Regions from separate parts of the Homo sapiens genome. Here region 1 is linked to region 2. Evidence: promoter capture Hi-C in 16 types of primary human blood cells and fetal thymus (Javierre and others, 2016). All regions are on one chromosome and are shown on one strand. Each heading gives the region's core, a stretch centred on a gene start or on the middle of the fragment in contact. The rest is flanking DNA. Distances are from core to core; before and after follow the strand shown.

Region 1 (6,231 bases), core at 473-2,972, 150 kb after region 2:
GAACTTGGAAGCCTCTTGCTTGCCTCTAACTCTCTACTTCCATTTTTCGTACCTTCCTCAGTTTATCTTGTTCACTAGACCATGAACTTTATGAAAGCTGATTTCATGTCTGTCTTCATTGCTGACACATAACTGGCTCTTGGAGGCTTAATGAATAAAAGAACTTCATGGCTGAGGCTGGTCATGTGAAAGAGAAAAAAAGAACTTCAGTATCTATTAATGCATATTAAGTGTTATGAGTACTGCATACTTACTGCTTAGAAGTGAAGAGAAGGAAGAGTTGACTTCTAACTTAAACCCTAAAGAACAGCTTCTTAGAGGACTCTAAATTGGGCCTTCAAGAATGGTTGCAAGAAGGGAGAGGATGTCCTATCTGGAAGGAATGACTCAAGGAAAGGAGGAAAGCTGACATTAAGGCAAATTCAGAGTATTCATATGGTTGATTAAGTGTGAAATGGGGTTCTTATGGGAAAATAGTGGCAGATGAGGGAGGTTGGTGGTTGAAGCCAGATTGTGGGGCGTCCAGAATGGTAGGCCATGGAATTTTGAGAGCAGAGTAGATAGAATTAGGAGAGGAAAGGGATCAGAACAAGTACACATTGTATAAACCTTCACCTGGATAAGACACTAGACTGGTAGGAGGGATGTAGTGCCTAAGGGTGAACTATTGTTTCCATGTACTTTTCTCTAGATGCTTTAATTAAACTATTATTCTCTAATCACAGATCTTGGAGCCTAATCCACAGCTAAAAAGATCTTTGGTTAGGACTCAGCTTTTGTTGCAGTTTTTCTTTCTATCCCGTTAATCCAAAGATGAATTGGACTTTGGAGTTTCTTTCCTATTCTCTGAATAAAAAGACTCAAATATGTAGCACTTATAGCTGATTTTCCACAGTATCACCTTATCATCCAGTAAATTAGATGTCTTAAGGGGTACACTTTGATCTCCATGTTTTTCCTTCCTCTGTAGTACCCTACTTTTCAAAAGGGGAGAAATATTTGTTCTTTCTGTTATTAAAGCTCATATGTAAAACCAGAAGCTTAGAAAATTAAAAAAACACTTAAAACTGTTTTATTCATAAGAAATCACTGGCAGTATGTTAATGTTTTTTGCTAGTTTTTTTTTTTTTTTTTTTTTTTTTGAATTTTTGGGGGAAGGTTTTTGTTTTCAAAGAAGTTATAATAAAAATACACCCAATGAAGAATGTTCCCACCACAGGTGGATCGGATTGCTAGAGGCCAGGCTTTTTTCACCAAACTTCAAAATCTAATTGGAGGCTCGATGCAGTGGCTCATGCCTGTAATCCCAGCATTTTGGGAGGCCGAGGCAGGTGGATCACTTGAGGTCAGGAATTAGAGACCAGCCTGGCGAACATGGCAAAACCCCATCTCTACTAAAATGCAAACATTAGCTGGGCAGGGCATGGTGGTGGGTGCCTGTAATCCTAGCTACTCAGGCAGCTGAGGCAGGAGAATTGCTTGAACCCAGGAGGTGGAGCTTGCAGTGAGCTGAGATTGTATCACTACACTCCAGCCTGGGCGACAGAGCAAGACTCCGTCTCAAAAAAAAAAAAAAAAAAAAACTAGTTGGAGGAAAATAAAATAATTTTAAATTATTGTTACATATTGGTATGAATCTTAACACCAAAGGAATAGCCCAAGCAGAATTATCCCATATTGCCTTTTTCTTACTTTTTAGTGTGTTCTATAATTGTTAACTATGTGCTTCTTATTTTAACAGTACTATCAAAAATTTTGGTGGGACAGTGAGTATTATCCCAGTTGGGGAAGCAAAGACATATGTAAATGGAAAACATATTTTGGAAATCACAGTATTACGTCATGTAAGTGGATGGGTGCTATAATATAAGAAACTGTTCGACTTTGGATAAGTCATTTAATTTCTTTGAGTTCTGGTTTTCTCTATAAGATAAGGGTGTTGAAGCAGATTAAGGACTTTTTCATTTCAAAAATTCTTTTTCCTATTAATTGCTTTCTTGTGCAAAGACAAAAGTTACATTTATATGAATCAGTACCTGAAGAGCTGACCACTAATAGCATCATTATGTGTCCTATAAAGAGCTAGGCTTTAGAATCAGACAGACAGGGTTGAAATCCTGGCTTTGCCATTTGCTCTGTGACGTCTGGCAAGTTATTTAACTAGATGATTAAACAATGTCACCCAAGTCAGGACACTTTTGAGATCATTATTAATAATTACATCAAGAGAACAAACATCAGCAGTGTGTTACAGGCAAACCCAGACCTATTGTGACTCTATATATCCTGCCTTTCAGAGATAGTGAAGGATTAACTGAAATAATAATTTGTGTATATAGTTCTTAGAATAGTATCTGCAAATAGTAAGCTCTCAATGAATGTCTCTTGTTATTATTAAGCTTTGTGCTGTTTAGTTTCCTCATTCCTAAAATTGGGATGATTATATGTATCTCACTGAGTTGTTGTGAATCGTAAATGAGATAACATAAAGTCTTGCACTTCATAATGATGTTTTGGGCAATGAGGGACCACATATGTAACAGTGGTCCCATAAGATTATAATACTGTATTTTTACTGTATTTTTTTCTGTTTAGATATACAATTATTTACCATTGTGTTATAGTTGCCTATGGTATTCAGTACAGTAACATGCTGTACAGGTTTGTAACCTAGGAGCAATAGGCTATGCCATATAGCCTAAGTGTGTAGTAGGCTATACCATCCAGGTTTGTGTAAGTACATTCCATGATATTCACACAACTATGAAATCACCTAACAGTGTACTTCTCAGAACATATCCCTGTTGTTAAGAGACATATGACTATATGTGTAATGTGCTTAATGCAGTGTTTGGTATATACAAAGTAATAAACGTTGGGAGGCCAAGGTGGGTGGATCATGAGGTCAGGAGTTCGAGACCAGCCTAGCCAACATGGTGAAACCCCATCTCTACTAAAAATGCAAAAATTAGCTGGGTGTGGTGGCACACGCCTGTAATCCCAGCAGCTCGGGAGGCTGAGGCAGGAGAATTGCTTGAACCCGTGAGGCCGAGGTTGCAGTGAGCTGAGATTGTGCCATTGCACTCCAGCCTGGGTGACATAGTGAGACTCTGTGCCAAAAGAAAAAAAAAGTAATAAATGTTAGTTGCTATGATGTTTATGTTTATCATTAATACTAGACTATATTGAATTGTTGGGCAAAATAAATTTTCTCATTTAATTTTTTGGTTGAGACTCACCTCAAGTAGTACATTTTTTTGTGTGCTTTAGGGTGATCGAGTGATTCTTGGTGGAGATCATTATTTTAGATTTAATCATCCAGTAGAAGTCCAGAAAGGAAAAAGGCCATCTGGAAGAGATACTCCTATAAGTGAGGGTCCAAAAGACTTTGAATTTGCAAAAAATGAGTTGCTCATGGCACAGAGATCACAGTAAGTATGCTGTTGATATGAAATAGTAAGTGTATGAGAGAGATCTACAACAGAGTTAATCACATTGTGCCAGTCTCTAGTAATTAACTCTTTGGGTGCTGGTTTCTAGTGATATAATTTTTTCTCTTAGTACATTCATTAGTTCACCAAATATATATTGACCATCTATTATGTGTCTGTCACTGTACCAAATGCTGGAGATATAAAGAATAAGGATTGAAATTTAGCTCATGTGCTGAAAGAATTCATCATCTCGAGGGGCTGACAGTTATAACAGTGCTATGACACAGTTCTCTGACAAGAGTCCCGAACTGTGTGGTGTGGAAGCTCACGGGGTGACACCTGGCCCTGACCGGTTATCAGGGAAGGTTTCTAGAAGATGAGAAGACGTCCCATAGAGGAGAATCCCAATAGACGATTAGAATTTAGCCAGAGGAAGACTGGGAGAGTGTACTTTTGTTTTTCTTTTCTTCTTGTGCCCCAGTTTTAGTTCATGCAGTATCGTAGGATTTCTGGCATAAGTAGTATCCTTGTAAGCTAAATGGTAAAGTATATACAAATAAAATGCTAAAGAGTTTGGACTTTATCTTAAAGGATAAGGGAAACATTAAAGAATTTTGAGCAGACGTGAGACACTCATAATCAGAATTACATTTTTAGAGAGATCACTGGCACTCAAATCTGGAGAATGCATTAGAGATAGAGCAAGCTTAAAACCTGCAAATGCAGCTAAGAGACTATTGAAGTAAGGTAAATATAGTGTGATTAGGTAGGAAGGAAACATAAAGGAGATAAGATTGACAAGGCCTGGTGACTAAAGAGGATGAAAGGAGGAGGAATCAAGAACTGGTTATAGGCTAGACTAACTGCTTTGTCACCTTTTAAGAAGCCTCAACCTGCTTTTGCCCTTTAAAAAGAATTTTTTTAATTGAATACAATATAAATAGCACAAAATTTACCATGTTAGCCATTTTTAATTGTATAGTCCAAAGGCATTAAGTACCTTCACATTGTTTTGTGGTTTTTTTTTTGTTTGTTTTTTGGTTTTTTTTTGAGATGGAGTCTGGCTCTGTCGTCTAGGCTGGAGTACAGTTGGCATGATCTGGGTTCATTGCAACTTCCACCTCCTGGCCTCAAGCCATCCTCCCACCTTAGCCTCCCGAGCATGTGAGACTATAGGCGCACACCACCACGCCTGGCTAATTTTTGAATTTTTTTGTAGAGATGGGGTTTCACCATGTTGCCCAGGCTGGTCTCGAACTCCTGAGCTCAAGCAGTCCACCTGCCTTGGCCTCCCAAAGTGCTGGGATTACAGGCGTGAGTCACTGTGCCCACCCTAGTGCCTTCACGTTGTTGTGCAACCATCACCATCATCCATCTCCAGAAATGTTTTATTATTCCAAACTGAAACTCTGTATTTGTTAAACAATAGCCATTCTCCTCTCTCCCTAGCTGTGATATCCACTAACCTTCTTTTTTATACTCTTATTCTTTTTTTCAGTAAAATTGGGAATGGAAATTTCTGTATAATGTAGTTACTAAAGCACTGATTTTATTTAAATGTCAGGCATCTGCAATAGTAACTAAGTTAGAAATAAGCAATTTTTCGTCCTGCGTGTTTAAATTTTGAGTGTAAACAATTGTAGAGCCAGTGAAAATTTTAAAAACACTGTTGATAGAATGTCAGAAATCAAGTTTTAAGATTGAAACTTTCATTCAATGGAAAACTTTTCAGTAGGATTAAGAACTATTATGATGTATAAAGAATTCTTAACATGTACCCTATAAACATCTTGCTACATTGTAGACTTGAAGCAGAAATAAAAGAGGCTCAGTTGAAGGCAAAGGAAGAAATGATGCAAGGAATCCAGATTGCAAAAGAAATGGCTCAGCAAGAGCTTTCTTCTCAAAAAGCTGCATATGAAAGCAAAATAAAAGCACTGGAAGCAGAACTGGTAAAAGGCAGAATTAGTTTTATTTTTTTTTTCCGACAGTGTACCCCAAGTGATGTGTTGCCTATAAAGTTGATTATGTCCCTATAAGGGAACTGGGAGAGATCAGAGATTAGTGAATCAAAGCCACAGTGAGTCTTGGCCCTCTTTAATTTTACTTTAAGAAATAAGTCAGGGCTGAGCATGGTGGCTCATGCCCGTAATCCCAGCTCTTTAGGAGGCCAAGGCGGGCAGATTACTTGAGCCCAGGAGTTCAAGACCAGCCAGGGGCAATGTAGGGAAACCGGTCTCTCCAAAAAGTTTAAAACATTAGCTGGGTGTGGTAGCATGCGCCTGTAGTCCCAGCTACTCAGAAGGCTGAGCTAGGAGGATCATCTAGCCCAGGGAGGTCAAGGCTGCAGTGAACCTTGACAGAGTGAGACTCTGTCTCAAAAAAAAAAAAAAAAAAAAAAAAAAGAAAAAAGTTGGTGGCGATAATAGACAATGGCTACTGGAATAAAAATAAAGAGAAACTTCTGTCCTCTAGCCGCTTGAGTCATGGCTGTCTCCATGGTTTATTGGAAATCTTGGGTTCCCAGAAGCCCATTTTAGATAATACTCTTAAGTATTTTTAGTTAACCTGAATGAAGTGGAGAAGCTTTAATAGGGCAACTTTTCTATTAGTGAGTAATTTCTTGTACATTGGTTAAAGAAAGGGACTTTTGTACTTTTTTGCTACGGTTTTTGCCTGAGATATTTTTTATTATTGTTCTTTAAAGAGAGAAGAGTCTCAAAGGAAAAAAATGCAGGAAATAAATAACCAGAAGGCTAATCACAAAATTGAGGAATTAGAAAAGGCAAAGCAGCAT
Region 2 (6,378 bases), core at 2,583-5,082:
AAAACACCAAATCAGTGCCTGAAGACCCTGTAAGTCATTGTTAAAGGAGTGATTTTAGTAAATCATATTGAAAGCTGGGCTGATTTTTTGAACAACTAAATATAATTAGGTAATACCTTTGAAATATGCTATCTATTAACCTTTCCTGCATAAGTGTATCTGCAGCAAATAAAGAATATTTACATCAAAAAAATTCCTAATTTTTTTCTATTCACTCCATATAAATTTGTTTTGAAAGACTGTTGATAAAGAATAAACAAAATGTACAAACATAACATTCTTAATAATGTATTAATATATTGTTACTAAGTCACTCAAGGTCTTCTAAACTTGTTTTTCATCCCATTTGAATATGGTCTTTTCATCCATTCCAACTGCTGCCAAGGCAAATGTAATAGCCAACAATATCATCTATCTGAAAATGAATTAAGATTTGTACAATTTTTAAAGAAAAAATTAGACTTCAATATGTACTATGTGCACATTTTTCACACCTGCAGATAAAACGGTTACTCTGCAGAACGGTATAGAGTAATAAGCAAAGGCTTCAGAGTCAGACATGCAGAACACATCACTTGCCAGATGTTTAATCTTGTGCAAATTAATCTGTGAGCCAGTTACCTTATCTGCAAAATGAGAACAGTATCTACAGGGTTGCTGCAGGAATAAATGAAGTAATGTATTCAGAGTGCTGGGTATCTAACAGCAGTGTTCCACCTCCACCAATACCTTTACCCTTTTGAGTCAGACCTCAAATCAAAACTCACTTCTGCCACTTACTAACACTGTGATAGTAGGAAAGTTAACCTCTCTATGCACTGATTTCCTCCTATTTTTTAAATGGGGAACACACTACCTACATCAGAGACTTGTTATCAATCTCTAACGTACAACTTACTGCAAAGCATCCAGCAGAGTGCCTGGCAGACATCAGATTCCACTGATACTAGATTCCCTTCATTTCCTTTCTTCTTCAGGTGTGTTCAATATGTTCAAGTGGTCTAGAATCTACGAACCTGCCTGACACATACCCAGAAAGTAGGCCATTTTCTAGCTGGAAGCTTTTGTGTATGCATGGCAAAATTTTGATATCTGTATCCTATAAGTATCCTCTCAGTTCCAGATGGAAAGAAAATATTTCTCTTATTCCCTTTGCCTTCCACTTTATACATACTACTTTTCCACATAGGTGACTATGTAAATTTCCCTCTTTCCATGTTTTCTAAGCACTTAAATAGCCTTGATTTGCCATCCAAATAGATACCGGCTTCAGTGTGCTGCTTAAGTTAAAACCAAAATACATCTATTATTCTCACTGCTTATATCAGTGGTGCCAGAATGTTTTTATATAAAGGCAGTAACACTTTGTGTTTCTTCCTATGAGTTACGCTAGACATTCAATTTCAAAGAGATGTTTAAAATTTAAATAATTTGAAAAGGATTTACTATATTTATTCCTGATGCCAGCTTAATATCAAAGCATAAAAATTCAAGTAAAATTAAGGCTGCCATAAACATAAAATCACATCAATGTCAAGTTTCCCCAAAAACAAATTCAAATCATTTTCCAAACACTGAGATTAATCTGCTATTTAAGTAGGATGTGTAAGTCCTGAAAATACTCAGCTGTGTAAGTTTAAGCAGTAAAACTGAACTAAACCATTTACCAAAACATTACATAGTCCTAAAATTGGAAATTAGTCACCCTCCCCCTGAAAAACCCTATATTTAACATGTGGAAATTTGTGAGTACTAGGGAACTTTTCAACAAATATTTCATATATCTAAACTTCATTAACTAGGGAACAGAAATCTTGTAAAATTACTCTTAAAAGTTACCAAATTACAGAAGCATCTTCCAATGAAAAGCAGCTCTCTAATTTTTTTAACATTTCACAACATGGGCTCCTAAAGCAACACTAAAGAATCATAACGGGAGGCCCTTTTCCTGTTATTTTGCAAAGACTGGGTTATGGAGGGAGTGTTTAACTGCTACTGTACTATACAATTTCTGTGTCAACAGCACACGCCTTCGAAAAACTCATCTATTAAAAAACTTCCCAAAGTAGGGAGTTTTTGTTTCTTTTAATTTATGAAGCCAAAATACATTTGGAAAAAAGAATATGCCTCACTGATAATATGAAATGAAAACTGCACCCTACAGTCAGCAAACTGAACGCTGGTTTTAAATAACTGATTTAATAAGAACTTAACATGCGTGCAGAAGGCTGATACAGCCTTAAAGAATGACAACAAAAATTAATACTGCACTCGACACAGGCCACCTTACATCCAACGGAGCCTGAATAGCAGCCATCATTACAAATGTCAAAATCAATATAGTACTATGCACCATCCACCTTCTTGCAATAATAAAGAAACCAACTCAGATTTCTTGGTGGTGTAATCACAATTATGACTGAGGCAGAAATGTACGCAACACAATGAAGAAAATACCACAAATCAAAACCACTCTATGTAAAAACATAAAATTGCTCACTGGGGGATGGGGGGGACATTTTGCCATCCAATAAAAGGAATCTGGCCAAATCCCACCTGACCATTCACGTGCCCTTCATTGAAGACCAAACCTGCTTTCCTTATTTCTCCTTTCTTTCTCTTCCTAGCCTCCCATCATCTCCCTTAACCTGTACGAGAAGACAGGCACGGGGAGGGAGGGATTCGAGAATCGGGAACAAAAACCGAGATGTGGACCACATCAGGAGGAAGAGGGGAGGGAAAGGGTGACACCACTAACCTGTCCCAAAGGCTTTGGCCACCAGCCAGGCCAGATTGCAGGCGATTTTGGCCCTGGAGAAATCATAGTGGTCAAAAGGCTTGATGGCTGGAACAATGAACGTCTTTCTCATCTCCCTGGGGTCTGCAGCATCCCCCATCTTTCACCGCGGCTCCTCGGGATGTCCCGGCCCTAACCTTCACATGGCGTGGCCTCGCCACCACGGGGGTCGGGAGGGAGGGAGAAGCAAGCTCAAACCATCGGGGCCCGGGCGATGTCCGCCCGGGCGCCGACGGAGGAGAAGCTCAGCTGTCCGCGCCGCGCGCCTGCCGCCTCCCGCGGGAGCCGCCGCCGCCGCCGCCGCCGCTCCCGGGCATAGGAATGTGGCGGCGCCGTCTCCGTCCGTCCGTCCGCGCGAGGTCCGCCCCGTGCCCGCGCCCCTCCGAGCCACCCGCCCCGCGAGCCCGCGTGTGAGCGAGGCCGCCTCCCCTTTGTCTCGGTTTAGTCACACGGGCTTGGGGGAGGGTGGAGGCTGGAAGGGCCCGGAATTTTAAGGGAGGGGGGATGGGGGGAGCCTTCAACAATCACGTTGTGGAAAATGTCCCCGCCATCGCGATGCCCGCACGCCCTCGCCTCCCTCTCCCCTTCCCTCGGAGCGGGGAGACCCCTCAGGCCCCGGGTGGGCGGAGGGACGAGCAGGACGAGGGGGAAGCGCGGGGCGAGCTGGCCCACCCAGCGCAGCCCGGCCCCTGCCCGCCGGAGACGCAGCAGCGGAAAACGTCAAAATCACTGCGGCTCACAGGCCGCCGCCGGCCCGTCCCCTCCTCTGTGCTCCCTCCCGTCGCCGTCTCCTCCTTCCCCTGCCGCCGTCGCCGCTGCCGTCTCCCGGGTCTTCCTCCCTTGCTGACGGCGAAGGTGGTGGCCGGGGAGAGGCCGCGAATCCCAAGCTCTCAGTTCCTGTCTTATCAGTAATGTCCTTGTAATTTTTTCCTGCCCCCCTTTCTGCAGCTCGCTGGATCGTTCCCCCTCAGCCGCCGCCGCCGCCGCTGCGGTTTTCCGGCTGCGGCACTGGATGAAGGAGCAGATGCGGAGACTGAGCATGCGCCTTCGCGCGGCTCCGACCCACCCCCCCCAACCCCCGCCCCCGCCCCCGCCCCCTCCCCGCTTCCCTCCCGTCTCCGGCCCACTGAGCATGCCCAGCCTCGCTCCCCGCCCGCGCCCGGGATTCGGGGCGGCTGCCTTTTAATCATCGCTCTGGAGTACTCGCTTCAGTGGACATCCTCCACGTCCCTGGCTTTTGGCTGCTGCTGCCTGCACTGCTGAGAGAGGAAAAGGAAGGGAGGGAGGAGGGAGAGGCCTGGCAATAGCTTTCGTATTCTACTTACACAGTGCTTCATCGAAAAGAGTTGATATTTACTTAAAATGTTCATTATGTGACACACACTTTGCAGCGAACTTGACCTGCACTATCTCATTTAGCCCTCGCAATAATCCTGAGAGGTAGATGTCATTGCTGATTGTCCACGAAAGAGAGGTGGAGTTGATTAGGTCATACATGGAACTTAACCAGGATTGAGGATCTGTGGGGGCTCCAAACCTGTGTTAATTTCATGATATCGAGATATTTTCTTAACTCAGTGCTCTCCACTTAAATTTTATCTCTGAGAGGGCACACGTCCAACAATGCCTCCCCATTCTCTCAGAAAAGAGCATAAATTCTTTCACAAAACAAGCTAATGCCCTTTGTGATCTGGCATCTACAGGCCTTTATAGCTTCATTTTGTCAGAACTGCTCTCTATTTTCTTCAATGAGCATGCCTTCTCAGATCTCTACCTCCTTGCTCAGGGTGGTTCCTCTGTCCACCCAGCTTACTCCTACTGCACCTTCAAACTCCACAGTAGTCACTTCCTCCATGAAGCCTTCCCTGACAGCTGCTGACAACTTTCCAGTCAGGGCTGTCACACAGGTGCCTCCCCTGTTGTTCCCGGAGCACCCTGTTCTTATTTCTGTCGTAGCATCTGTCACATCGTGTGGCAATAATCAGTTACTTGTCGGTTTTTCCCATTGATGACATGATGACAGGGTATATCTCCAGCAGCTATACGGTGCCCAGCCCCATAGTATAATTGCTCAATTAATGGACTACATGTGAATATTATCAAAGTTAACACATACTGAGCTTACTTAAATCACTAGCTCCTCACGTCTCATTTTAATACATTATCTAATTTTATTTTTAAGTGATTGTTGTTGTTATTATTATTATTATTGAGACGGAGTCTTGTTAAGTCGCCCAGGCTGGAGAGTGGTGGCAAGATCTCAGCTCAGTGCAATCTCCACCTTTAGGGCTCAAGCGATTCTCCTGCCTCAGCCTCCTGAGTAGCTGGGACTACAGGCGCGCACCACCACGCCCAGCTGATTTTTTGTGTATTTAGTAGAGATGGGGTTTCACCATGTTGACCAGGCTGCTCTCGAACTCCTGACCTCAGGTGATCCGCCAACCTCAGCCTTCCAAAGCGCTGGGATTACAGATGTGAGCCACTGCGCCCAGCCTATTATTATTATTTTTTGAGACAGGGTCTTGCTTTGTTGCCCTGGCTGGAATACAATGGCAAAATCACAGCTCACTGCAGTCTCAACCTCCCAGGCTCAAGCAATCCTCCCATCTCAGACTCCCATATAGCTGGGATTACAGGCACACATCACCACACCCAGCTAATTTTGTTTATTTTTTGTAGAGATGAGGTCTCCCTATGTTGCCCAGGCTAGTCTCAAACTCCTGGACTCAAGGGATCCTCCCACCTCAGCCTCCCAAAGCGCTAGCATTATCTAATTTTAATCATTATAAAATCCTGTATTATCTTCATTATACAGATGAGAAAACTAAGGCTCAGAAAAAAAAATTAATTACTCTTATTCTGCACAACTAGTAAAGGCAGAGGGCAGCTCCATCAAAAAGCAGGTCCCTTTGTTTCTGTTTAATCCCTGTAAACACTCCTCCTTAAACCTAGTAGGACACAACAGATGAGGCTTGCTAACAATGTGGGATATGAAAAGAATTTGAAAATAATAATATGCCAGAGGGTGGTTGATGTAATTTTTCCAATAATTTAATTAATATTAATAGGGTTTTTCTCATGGGCAAGGAAGGCCCTTTGCTGTATCACATGGAGGTTAATAAAATTAACAGATAGATAACAACTCACAAAGCATGTTCATATGATAACTAATTTCCATATCTATTTTATGAAGTAGGAATTATTATTGTCTTCCAATTCTAGATGCAGGACTGAGAATTGCAAAGATTAAGTGGCATGGCCAAGATTTCATGGTTGATTCATATCTGAGTCTGGCTTCAAATTCAAGCACAGGTCTTCTGGCTCCACTCCTCTGGCACTTTTCCCTGTGCCTGCTCTCTTTCCGCATTATGGAGGCTAACATGTACATAAATAAATTTATAATACAATGTAAAAGTGATAAGTGCTGTAAGAGATATAAAGTGCAGTCAGGGGCCAAGCACAATGGCTCATGCCTGTAATCCCAGCATTTTGGGAGGCTGAGGCAGGTGGATCACTTGCGGTCAGGAGTTCAAGACCAGCCTGGGAAACATAGCAAAAACCTGTCTCTACTAAAAGTACAA

Evidence for each region. The method cuts DNA at HindIII sites, captures the fragments that hold promoters and counts their contacts. A CHiCAGO score of 5 or more calls a contact.
Region 1: a contact is called between a fragment that was not itself captured here and the fragment with the promoter of CAMSAP2 in region 2, in 1 of 17 cell types (monocytes). The highest score is 5.3, in monocytes.

Annotation. Positions count from the first base shown.
Region 1 is chr1:200,589,280-200,595,510 of GRCh38, reverse strand. KIF14 (kinesin family member 14) reads left to right here. Exons shown (of 30, transcript NM_014875.3): 15 at 1,742-1,844; 16 at 3,271-3,431; 17 at 5,239-5,386; 18 at 6,142-6,231. Among named protein-coding and RNA genes, the nearest start is that of KIF14, 28 kb to the left of the region's middle. The HindIII fragment of the contact is 1,359 bases long and covers 1,043-2,401 here.
Region 2 is chr1:200,736,347-200,742,724 of GRCh38, reverse strand. CAMSAP2 (calmodulin regulated spectrin associated protein family member 2) reads right to left here and starts at 3,832. Exons shown (of 17, transcript NM_203459.4): 1 at 2,759-3,832. The coding sequence starts at 2,897. RefSeq lists silencers at 3,023-3,092, 3,123-3,482 and an enhancer at 4,123-4,202. The HindIII fragment of the contact is 5,817 bases long and covers 1,064-6,378 here.